Regions from separate parts of the Homo sapiens genome. Here regions 2, 3 and 4 are each linked to region 1. The links are contacts of gene promoters, found by promoter capture Hi-C in blood cells and fetal thymus (Javierre and others, 2016). All regions are on one chromosome and are shown on one strand. The core of a region is centred on a gene start or on the middle of the fragment in contact, and the rest is flanking DNA. Distances in the headings are between cores, read along the strand shown.

Region 1 (2,917 bases), core at 164-2,663:
TTTATCGAGGCATAACTGGCATACAACACGGTGCATACACTGGAAGTATACAATCTGATAAATTTTGGCATATACATATACCTGATGAAGTGCAATTAATCAATCTGTTCTTTCATGGATCATGCTTTCAGTGTCTTATTTAAGAAATCTTTTCCAATCTCAAGATTAGAAGATTTTATGTCTTCCTGTAAGAATTTTACGGTTTGATCATTTCACATTTGGCTGTATGTACTGCTTTGAGTTAATTTGTATATGATATAAGTGATGATTCAAAGTTCATTTATTTTTCATATGAATATGAATTTTCCCAGAATCATATGTTAAAAAGACTGTCATTTTTAATGATTTTTTTTTTTACCTTTGCAAAAATCAGTTGTCCAAATATGAGTGAGTCTATTTCTGGATTCTTTATTCTGTCCATCAACCTATTTTTGTAACTTGTTGCCAAAATCACGTTGTAGTAATATAGTTGTTTATGTATAGTATCCAAAATAATACACAAAACATTATAAATAATAATTCAACAGTTTATAACTATAAGATTAATATACAGAAATGCATTCCTTTATTTTAGTACCACTCCAAGAGAGAAAAAAATTACATAAAAAAAGTAATTTCCAATAGCAACAAAACTACAAAGTACATAAGAACATCGAATACAATATATTTAAGAGTTTTAAAGGGAAACTTATAAAACTTTATTGGGAGATTTAAAGGACCTACTTAAGTGGGTGTATGTCTGATATTTTAAATGGGAAGATTTGATAAAATGAAGACAGCAGTGTTGTCAAATTAATCTATAAACTCCTATCCAAAATCTCAAAGGGTTTTTCATAGAATTTATCAGAATGATCCTAAAACCTAAATGAAAAAAATAAAGACAAAAACCTGCAAAACAAGTTGAATATGTTTATCAGGATGTACTATCCCTACTACTAGGTATCAATACTTACTACAAATGTATAATTATTAAATCAGTATGGCAGTGGCGTAGAAAAAAATGAACTAATAAATAGAGTGTGGAAACAGGACCACATGTAAATTAAAGCTTGGTATATAATCAAAGTGGCATTAAAAATCACAAGGAAAGAATGGCCAACTATAAAAAGTGTTCAGACAAATGACAATACACAGGGAATGATATATTCAGCCTTTCTCTTATATCATACACAAAATATATATCTGGTTGGATTAATTATCTAAATAGAATAGTAATGATGTTGAATAAAACACAGAATTTCTCAATACATTGAAGTAGAAGGAGGTTCCTTAAATAAGGCACAAAAAGGACAAGCCAGAAAAAAAAAATTTGTCAAATGTGATTGCATGCATATTCTCAATTTCTTTGTAGGAAACACACACATCCGTGCACACACACACACTAAACAAAGTGATTATACAAGGCAAAAACTGGGCAGATACCTGCAATACACACACACACACACACACACACACACACACACACACACATATATATATGGCTATACCTGCTATATATATATATATAGAGAGAGAGAGAGAGAGAGAGAGCTAATAGAGGTTTTGCTTTTGGAATACATGGAGAACCATGTATCAATAAGAAAACAACAGTCTATTTGAAAAGTGTGCAAAAGATGTGAATGAGCAATTTGCTCAAATATCCAATAAACATAAAAAAGATGTTTGACATTATTAGCAATTAATGACTTCCAGAGCAGCAACATATAAAGTGGAAGAAATAAGCCAAAGAACAGGAAAAGATGTTTATGAGCTGAAAATAACTGATTGTGAATTTTAGGGAAGCTTGAATACCCCCATCAGTAGAGTCAATGTTAATAAATTCTAAACTATCACTGTTAATGGCCTTATAATGTTTTTTCCTATATGTTGGTAAGCGCTGGAGAAACTCTACTTATACATGTAGAGTTCATGAGTGAAAATTAAAACTATTATCAGGACCATTTTCAAAATAAGGAATACATTAAAAATATTTGCAATGATAAAGCCATCCAAATGCCCCCATCCTACTGATGAAAGCAAGGAAGGACACTACCTTTGTTGAATATCTACTGTGACAATCAGCTTGGATGATTCCTACTTTTCTACTTGTCCATAAGAAGCTAATCTTCCTATAACCCTCTTATATAATAACAATCACATTTTAATCACATTTTATGTGATTGACTCAGTTTTTTCTCTGAAGTTATGTTGCCTTATAAATGAAAAACTTGCATTTTACTTCATAATATCTGTTAACTTAAAAAATGCTTGTATTTGCTATTGGCATAAAAGTCAGCCTTACAAATAGGCTGATAGACAAACCCCAAAGGAAGCCGAAGCTTAAGGAACACCAGCTCAGAGACACCAGAGGACATGGCTAAAGTGAATAAAAGAGAAATGAACCCATCCTTTCAGAGCTGATGTCCATGTTTGCAGGTTCAGGTTCTCAGAGGTGTGCACAGCATGGCTGGCCTTTCCTCAGTTGTCTTTTTCAGCAGAGAAACGGTTAAGTCTCTCGTCTCTAACCCAGCTCCTCTATGGTGCTTACCTCCTGATCCCTGGGGCGATCAGCAAACCGGGTCTGCCACCTTCTTTTCAGAGAGCTTAACTAGCAGAGGACTCAGGAGAGCATGCCCAAATAACCTAGGTGACTTTCAAAGCTACAAAGACTCTGACACTTCTGGACGGCTTCACATGTACCCCTAATAAACACTTCCCTTCACCCCCAGGCCCAGTGTGGGTAGGAGTGACAACTGGAGCTCTAATTGGCTGAGCTGGTTTGGGTTCTCACTAGCAGCCACAGAAGAAAATGTCTATAGAAACTTGTATCTGAGTCATGCCACATAGGAACTACACTGATTGGAAACAGAAAGTGGCCTAGAAACTGTAAAAAATGACCGCAGATGACTTCTTGATACACTTTGTGACTAAGGGGCCT
Region 2 (2,917 bases), core at 137-2,636, 740 kb before region 1:
AAGAGAGCAAGTTATTAAACACAAATAAGAAAAAAAGGCATGAGAAAAGAACCTAGGATTTTAGATTTTGGTGGGGATAAAGTTATTTGGTGTAAAATGATGATGAGCTAAAAACTAATGATAACATTTAGACATTTTCAGAAACAAGAGCATTGAGAAAAATGTGCATGCCATGAAGACAAAGGTATGTGATAAAGGAGTACAGTGAGTATGAAAGGAGAGGTGAGGCAGAGCGTGGTGCAGTCAGGAGTGCAGCATTCCAGAGTGAGTGGAGGTTCCCAGCAAGAGGAGGGTGCGGGGAGGAGATGATTGAAAAGATGGATTAGGGGAGAAAGCCACACGTTAGATCACTCAGGCACAGGGTAGGAGAAGTAAGGGCCCTTGAGGAGAAGTTTCACATAAGACAAACCAGCAGCTGGTTACAAAGTGGAAGACAGTCTGAGAGTAAGAGAAGAGTGCAGAGGCAGCAAGAATCTGAAATATGAGGTGTGATGGTGTGAAGCTGGAGTGAGAGACTACTCAAGAAAAGCATGTGCGTGCATTTGGGTAAAATAGAAAGGAAGGGAGAAGCATCAGAGAGAGCAACACTTTGCAAAAAAGAGAGAAAAGAGAGTCCTTGAGACTCTTCCCAGTTCGGTGGACTAGACTCACATTTCATCTGGAAATCACCGGCAAAGTCTTGTACTTCTCGAGCGAATCCAAAGATGTAGACTCGGAATATCTCCTCTAACTCAGCAACCTCCTTATCACTAAAGTTACCTTTAGACCAAGGCTTCAGGAATATGGCAGTGCCTGAGTCGCTATCCCAGCCATGAATCTGCAAATCATCCAACCAGCCTGAGCCTTGAGTTTGTGCCCAGGTACTATTGGTAAAGGACGAGGTCTGGATAACATGAAAGGAGGTCGGCCCCTGGAAGGCTGTGAAGAGTGGAAAAGCAAGATGGTGAAGATAAAGAGAGAAGCAGGAGACAATTAGGAAGAATGGGAATGAAAATGATTTAGAAAACAAGAACCTAGAGTCTAAAGAACACAGGAAGTCTGACACATTTGACTGCCTTAAGGCTTCAGGTTCTAGTCCCAACCACCAGAATGGTTGAAGAGGGCGGGAGACAGAAAGACCCAGACCCTTAGTGTCCAATTGCACCTAGGAAAGCCCTGCTTGCTTTTTAAAATCCAAACCCCTGCACCAGTGCTGGGAGCTGCCAGAGTGACTCTTACCATGTTCACTGTTACCACCAGGAAAGAGAACAGCTAACAGTTGAAATGGCAGCAGCAGCATTTCACTGGGAGATGCAACTTCTTACTGGCAGAGCTGGTATTTGATCTCCAATTTCAGCAAAGCTTTTCCTCAGTACCCTGTAGTGACTTCTTCTCTCTTCCAACTGCCAAATCTCTTCCTCATCCAAACTGCTTTTCAGAGAAAAATGTGCCTCCCACAGCCCTGAGCCTCTTACCTCACCTTTTATTTCCCTCAAGCCCTGATTTTTAGAGTTTCTCTTACCCCCTGACTTCCAGCCGCTCTCCCTGTCCTCACCTTCCTTCATACCTCCTTGGAAAAGCCCCCATATGATTCTGCATTTTCATTTCTCCTTCCTTAGCCTTTATTCCCACATCTATAGGATAAGATGGTGATATTAAGCAATTGCTAAGCTTTTAGTCTGCTTTAACCCAGAAGGATGCTTTTAGTTTATCCACCTCACTTAGTTTCTCCCCCTCCCAGCTGCCTTATCTTCTCTGGCACTCTGTTACTGCCTCTTCCCAATGTTTTCAATGTCTTCTCTTTCTTATATTGCCCTCTTTGTCTGGTGTTCCTTACCCCACATTCTAAACTGGCTGTGAGTGTGTGTGTGTGTGTGTCTGTGTCTGTGTGTGTATGTGTATGTGTGTGTACCGATATTCACTTACATAAAGGCAAAGCATTTAAAACATTTCCTGTACTATAGCACTACAAACCAAAATGCCAGAATCAAATATAATAAAGACTGAAGTTTATAATTCAAACAAAATTATACTATAGCAATATTTGAGGGAAAAAATGACAATTGCTGCTAGCATGTGACCTTCTCTTCAGGAGCTCTTGGCCTATGGAGTTTTGAGTAACAAATATTCATGACATAAACAGAACTCTAGGAGCTATGCTATGTGCACCTCCAGCCTAAGTCAAAGATAACTTTTTGGGTAAGTTGCCATAAGCGGCAGAGCTTTTTTCTTCTCTTGTAATATCTCATAACTGCTGTCTACATTTGGGCATTCATATCACCACATGTGGTATTAATAATAGAGCAAAGAGGTTGCTTTTTTTTATACAAAAAGTTCAGAGATACTTGTTTTAAGATGTCACCTCCTATCTTCTTGTATGCCCATGAAAAATTTTAAGAAGAATTTTTGGATTTTCTCCATTTAGGAAAAAAATCACATATTTGCAGAGATCTATGTATCATGCAGAAATGTGGCAGCAATCGATTCCGAGTAAAGAGGGTTATCACTAACTAATTCTATTATGTGGATAAGAAAATGCAAAGTGAGTAGTGTAGTGTTCTCTATTCCTGGGGACACTACTGGTTCACAACATTAATAAGACTGGTTCACAACATTAATAAGACTAGCCTTCATCCAAGATTATTACTGCCTAATTGATAAATACAGAGCAGCTCTCCAAATTTCAATGTATGTATCTCTTAACAACATTCCCAGACTCCAATACATGACAGAATTGAATCTACTTTTTGGATAACAGCCATAGACAACAGCAGAGACTTAACATTGGCTGTCACAGACATGAACATTACTATTTTTGTGTTTATACGTTTTTTATTTTGGGTAGAACACCCAAAACAGAGCTCAGGAAAAGCTGGTAGACAACCTGGGCTATTTTCCATTAAAATAAGTGAGTTCTTGCAAGACTCCCAAAGTTGAA
Region 3 (2,917 bases), core at 309-2,808, 680 kb before region 1:
TTTAAATTTTCTCTCCCTTCTTTTCATCCCACTTATTCTAAATCTTTTTCTCTTTCAGATGGAATAAATACTCATTCCTTTGATTCTCATAACTTTTATTTATATTCTTTTAACTGATCTGATTATCTTGCATTATCATATTTTTTTCAGTGTTCATCTTTTCACCTAACCAGTCCCAACCACCATAAACTATACATTTGTTCATTTTAATTTTTCCTCTTTGAATGGGACTTGGTACACAGATGAATGTATTACTAGATGAATGCCTGTGTCCCGGATAAAAATGCTTCCAGCCACTTCAGACTCTGTTCTGTCTCTCCAACTGGAAAAGCAATTCTTGTCCTTATATTTGTTTTGGTTGTGTCTTTCCTTGAAAAACTCTCATGCTTTTCTCTTTTTGCCAAGTGTGAATTCTTTTTTTTTAACTAGACATCGGACAATATAGAGTGTAGATTGACTTGCATTTTTTTTCTTTTTGGAATAGGAGAAAATAAAAAGGCAAGAGTAGTCTTAATCCTTGGAAACACTGTCTGAGACATGCATTAAAGGTCAGAAAATTTTATGCCTTTGATTTCTTCTGTGACTATCCTAGTTAATTTTATTATTATTTTTTGTTAGCTCATCTTGGTTGCCACAGGCATTCCAAGAACTCTTTTCAATGCAGTTTTTACCTCTTTGTTCCTCAGACTGTAGACAAGAGGATTAAGTAAGGGAGTAACCACTGTGTAGGTCACTGCCACCAACTGATCCTTGTCTGAGGCAGACTTGGACTTGGGCCGCAGATAGATGATAGAGGCACAGCCATAGTGGACAAAGACCACAGTGAGATGTGAGGCACAGGTGACAAAGGCCTTCTTGCCCTCAGCTGAGGGGATCTTCAGGATGGTGTTAACTATGAAGCCATAGGATATGAGAATTAACAGAAAAGGCACCATAATTACCAGGATGCTGAGGCTAAATAAAGCCAGCTCTTTCACATGGGTGTCAGTGCAGGCTAACTTGATAACAGGTGCCATGTCACAGAAATAGTGGTTAACCCTGTTGGGGCCACAAAAACGCATGTCACAAATGAGGTTGGTGGCCACCAAAGCAATAAAGAAACCTGTGGCTCCTGAGAGAGAAATCAACTCCAACCCCAGCCTTTTGTTTATGATGAGTGTGTACCTCAGAGGGTGACAAATTGCTACATAGCGATCATATCCCATCACAGCAATGAGGAGGCAGTTGGTGCAAGCAAAGCCAAGGAAAAAGAACAGCTGGGTGGCACAGGCCATGAAGGAGATGGTCTTGGTGTCTGAGAGCAGGTGGACCAGCAGCTGAGGGATGATGACAAAAGTGTAGCAGGACTCAGAAAATGAAAGGATGAATAGAAAGCCATACATGGGAGTGTGGAGAGTCCAGCTGAAGCGAATAACGGCCATGATGGTCACATTGGCCACCAGGATTGTCAAGTATAGGAGAAGAAAGATGACAAAAAGCAGCAGCTGGAGCTCCCCCAGGCTGGAGAAACCCACCAGGATGAACTGTGTAACCACAGTGGTTTTGTTGAAACCTCGCATCTGAAGAACTTCTTTCTGTGAATGTGTTTGAAAGAGACAAAATGATAACTATCTTTGTAATACGAACATTTTCCCAACGCCTTCACTTTAAGTATATTGTCAGATTCATAATGTTAACATCTCTTTCTCTTAGTCTATCTAGATATAGATGCCTCTTTAATGATTTTTCCAAAAAATTATTAATCTGAAGTAACAGAGAAATGATTATCTACAGTATATAAATACCCCAAAGTTAAAAGGATCCAACTATTTGACAAAGTGAAAAAATTCTCTCAGTTTAAGAAGAACATTACCTTTAATATGGAATAGAAAATTTAAATTATTTTTCTTGTACTGTATGTATTTGGTCCTTGGATGTATATTCTATCCTAGTAATTTGGTTTCTTTTCCTAATATCACAATCCATTTAATTAGCATTATTGTAAAGGCATTAAAACACTGTGCCTCAGAGCATGAACTCAGGAACAAGAATGCTAGAGTTTGAAACTTGCCTTTGCCACTTAGAGCTATGAACTTCAGTGTGACAATTTTTGTCATTTGTAAGACATAAATAATAATAGAACATATTATATAGGATTGTTGTAAGAACTTAGATGGTATCAGTAAAGTACTTGAAACAGCACTTAACACATAGTAACTCCAATCTATGTGTCAGCTGCTTATGCAGTTAAGGAGTTGAGAGGCAAATATCCTGGTTTGATATTTGAACACTAGAAGAGCCTGGATCCTTAAATCAGGACAGAGTTTCCCTGCATTTGACTCAAGTGTTCTTATCCTTGAGATTCTTTTTTTAAAATTGAGCAAAAATTTAAATATGCACAGTTAAAGAAAGAACTGTTACTTTTACATTAAAAATTATTTTCTTTTTAATTTATTTTTTATTAGCAACTAATAATTATACCTATTTATGGGGTATTATGTGATGTTTGGATACATGTATACATTGTGGGATGATTAAATCAGGGTTCTTTAATAAATCTGCCCTTTTTTATCTAAGGAGTCTATAGCCTTTGAATTCTCTTTCATGATTCTATGACATTTGTTCTGTATGTTTCTGGAACTGTGAAGGGACCCAAGTGTAAAACCTGGGTCACAAGGTTATGATGTATCTGTCTATGAAACAAAATAGATTGATGATCACTAGGGATAGGGGTGGAGCAGGAAGACTTAGGTTAAGTCTTCTCTCTATTGAAGAAAGGAGAGGAAATAACGTGAACACACCTTGAATCTCTTGCAAATAAAATAGCCAGAAAGTGCTAAATGGAAAGAGAAGAGCCTATCTCAGGAACTTCCCATTATTTTATAGTCTAGGTTATTCCTCCTCCCAGAGCCCTAATCATTTTTACTTTCAGAATCAG
Region 4 (2,917 bases), core at 268-2,767, 610 kb before region 1:
TCAATCACCATTTTTGTGTTTTCTGGTGGAAGTAACACTCCTTTGTGAAATAACACTTCTAATCCACAAAGCTCAAACTTATGCATATAAGTCATTAGGAGTAATAACAGAAGGATTCATTTCATCTCCCCTTAAACGTCGGTTCTCAGACTTATACATTCTTGTTAGTAGAGAATGAACACAATCCTTTGGCTGCTGGTTCAGAGTATATTCTGCTTTGGGCAGACACATGGGGCTGTACTAGGTATTGGCACAGAGCCAGTGCAGTAACTGAGCCTCAAGTAAACCGTTTCATATTCCACCAGGTCACCTCCTTCTGAGCGGTGGAATACACAGAGGCTTCCCAGTATTATTTAGTACATAATTATAATTCTCTCACTGACTTGTGAGGTCACTTCTGCCAAAGACCAAGTTCTCAAATACACATACATTAATTTCTGAGCTCTCCTTTCTGTCTCTATACTACTTATTTCTTCTTGCACCAATAGCATGCTCTTTTTTATTACTAAAGCATAGTTTTTTTTTACTAGGAAGAGTGAGGGCCTATATTACTTGCCCTTTACAAAATTGTTTTATAATTTCATGAAAATTTTGGAAATCTGATTGTCAGGGTGACTTCAAAATTTATGCATGGATTTGGGTTGGAATTATATTGGCTTTATAGATTAGCTTGAACAAAATTCACAACTCTATATTATTTTGTCATTCTGGTAAAATGCATTAATAAGATAACACACTGTTTGATGACAGAGCTCAACTAGATTTAGTATACTTACTAAAATTTTAGGTTTTTGCAAAACATCTCAATGTTCTTAATTAGAGTTTCTAGGGGCAGCGCCCTGGAAAACATCATTCAACCCTCTTTTGATTCTTAGAAACACTGAAGTTGAGTGTCATTGGACAAATACATCAGTCTTCTGATTAAAATTCAGTAAAAATTTTCCACTTGGTCTGTTGCATTACAGTCTTAATTGTGGTGGGCTCTCCTTCAGAATCCATCACAACTTTCAAATGGACTCAACTTTCAAAGCATACATGGGCTAATTATGCTCATGACTTCAACTCCCCAGGCTCCTCAACTGAGGCCACCTTTGAGAAACTGGTGACATTATTTTTTCCAAAATGAACTTGACTCCTAATTAACCCCAAGACAACAGCTCCAGTGCAGTAGATCTAACCTCAGGAGTCCAGTGTTTACAGTACATGCTTCTAATAACCACATCCCACGTTGGTCATCAGAACTTCTGAAGATGGTGACTTATCTGGAGAAGCTGGGAGTCCTGATAGATGGAGGAGGCTAGCTCTGTTGATTCAGATGAGAGTTTCTATCTCAAGGCAGCTTCCCTCTCATTTGCTGTTATTTCCTCAGGCTCTGATTTGTGGCAGTGGTGCTACTTGTCAGGAGACTGCCAAATACTGAATAGCTGCTTCTCTCTAAATTAGAAGGGAGAGAGCAATGTAAGTACTTACCGAGCAGTGGGAACATTGACCTAGCTTGGGGATTTGTGGGGACTGGACTTGAATGATGGGTAGTGTTTGAGAAAGCCTCTTTCTGTGCCTCCCATGGAGATCAGTGATGGCATTTCTGGTAAGTAGCAGAGTTAAAAAGGAGAATCAGAGGCTACCTTTCACTGAACTTACTAAGAGTGACTGGGAATGGCCTTTATAATTCTCAGAATTTGGCTGGGTGTAGTGGCTCACCCCTGCAATCCCAACACTTTGAGAGGACAAGATGGGTGAATCACCTGAGGTCAGGAGTTTGAGACCAACCTGGCCAACATGATGAAACCCCGTCTCTACTAAAAATAAAAAAATTAGCCAGGCATGGTTGCGTGCACCTGTAATCCCAGCTACCTGGGAGGCTGAGGCAGGAGAATTTCTTGAACCTGGGAGGCAGAAGTTGCAGTGAGCCGAGACCGTGCCATTGCATTCCAGCCTGGGAAACAGAGTGAGACTCCTTCTGAAAAAAAAAAAAAAATTATCTGAATTGTTCTTGAAGATCATATTGGGTCATTCTTACTCATAGCTAGATTTTATTTTCTTTTTTCTTTTCCTTCCTTCCTTCCTTTCTTCCTTACTTCCTTCCTCCCTTCCTTCTTTCCTTCCTTCCTTCCTCCTCTACTTCTCTTTTTTGTTCATTGGTGGATTCATGGATTAAATGAAACAGATACTCCACTTGTCTCTCATCTCTCACTCTTCTACTTCTGTTTCTGCTGTGTACTCCTGGATGTATAATTTTAGGTATAATTGAAATCTAGTACTTAAACTCCATTTTAATATGGCAATCTGGAGAAATTAAAGATTTTTATTTGTATCTAAGAAGTTAAAATTTCACTCCTTTATTATCTGAAGCTGCTTACATAATTTCTCTCAGCTAACTGATTGATGTTTTCCTTAAAATAAATATTTATATTTCTTAAAAGTTTTACACGTGAAAACTCTGTAGATTGCCTTCTTTTGGGGGAACCCAGCACCCTCAAGTACTTTGTTTCTATTTAAATCCAGATTACATAAAATCCCAGTGGAGCATCTGAGGAATTAGAAAAATAAAACACTGAAGTAGCATCTCCAAGGATCATAGCCTGAATTCTATTCATACGTTCTAAAATATCACAATTAAGGGGATTTTGAGATCATCTAACTAGAGAGTCTTTGATTCTCTGAGCAAGAAAGGCTCCTAGGGGTCATAGTACTCCGATACTATCTTAGTCAAAATTCCTCTGTAAAATGTTCAGGGATCCTCTGCTTCAGTGCCTTCCACATATCCCAACAGTTTATTCCATTACTGTTTATGCTATCCCTTTAATTAAAAAAAAAACTAAATATTGAAGGTATATACTTCATCTAAAGTCACAGAAGACTAGACCTGAAACCTAAATCTTTTCACATCACCCTAAAGATCTTTCATCTTCATTTT

The links. Contacts are between HindIII fragments. The CHiCAGO score rates a contact against its expected background, and 5 or more counts as called.
Region 2: the fragment with the promoter of CD1B here is called in contact with a fragment that was not itself captured in region 1 in 10 of 17 cell types (M2 macrophages, M1 macrophages, fetal thymus and 7 more); the score reaches 13.7 in M2 macrophages.
Region 3: the fragment with the promoter of OR10T2 here is called in contact with a fragment that was not itself captured in region 1 in 4 of 17 cell types (fetal thymus, naive B cells, total B cells and 1 more); the score reaches 9.5 in fetal thymus.
Region 4: the fragment with the promoter of OR10K1 here is called in contact with a fragment that was not itself captured in region 1 in 1 of 17 cell types (erythroblasts); the score reaches 6.2 in erythroblasts.

The regions. Positions count from the first base shown.
Region 1 is chr1:159,074,106-159,077,022 of GRCh38, forward strand. AIM2 (absent in melanoma 2) reads right to left here and starts at 2,661. Exons shown (of 6, transcript NM_004833.3): 1 at 2,528-2,661. The HindIII fragment of the contact is 734 bases long and covers 1,047-1,780 here.
Region 2 is chr1:158,330,145-158,333,061 of GRCh38, forward strand. CD1B (CD1b molecule) reads right to left here and starts at 1,387. Exons shown (of 6, transcript NM_001764.3): 1 at 1,219-1,387; 2 at 652-918. The coding sequence starts at 1,279. The HindIII fragment of the contact is 309 bases long and covers 1,340-1,648 here.
Region 3 is chr1:158,397,908-158,400,824 of GRCh38, forward strand. It overlaps OR10T2 (olfactory receptor family 10 subfamily T member 2), which reads right to left and starts at 1,559. Exons shown (of 1, transcript NM_001004475.1): 1 at 615-1,559. The coding sequence starts at 1,559. The coding sequence ends at 615. The HindIII fragment of the contact is 4,820 bases long and covers 1-2,917 here.
Region 4 is chr1:158,460,317-158,463,233 of GRCh38, forward strand. OR10K1 (olfactory receptor family 10 subfamily K member 1) reads left to right here and starts at 1,518. Exons shown (of 2, transcript NM_001004473.2): 1 at 1,518-1,588. LOC107985212 (a long non-coding RNA gene) reads right to left here and starts at 2,455. Exons shown (of 2, transcript XR_001738256.3): 1 at 1,855-2,455; 2 at 1-1,434. The HindIII fragment of the contact is 25,948 bases long and covers 1-2,917 here.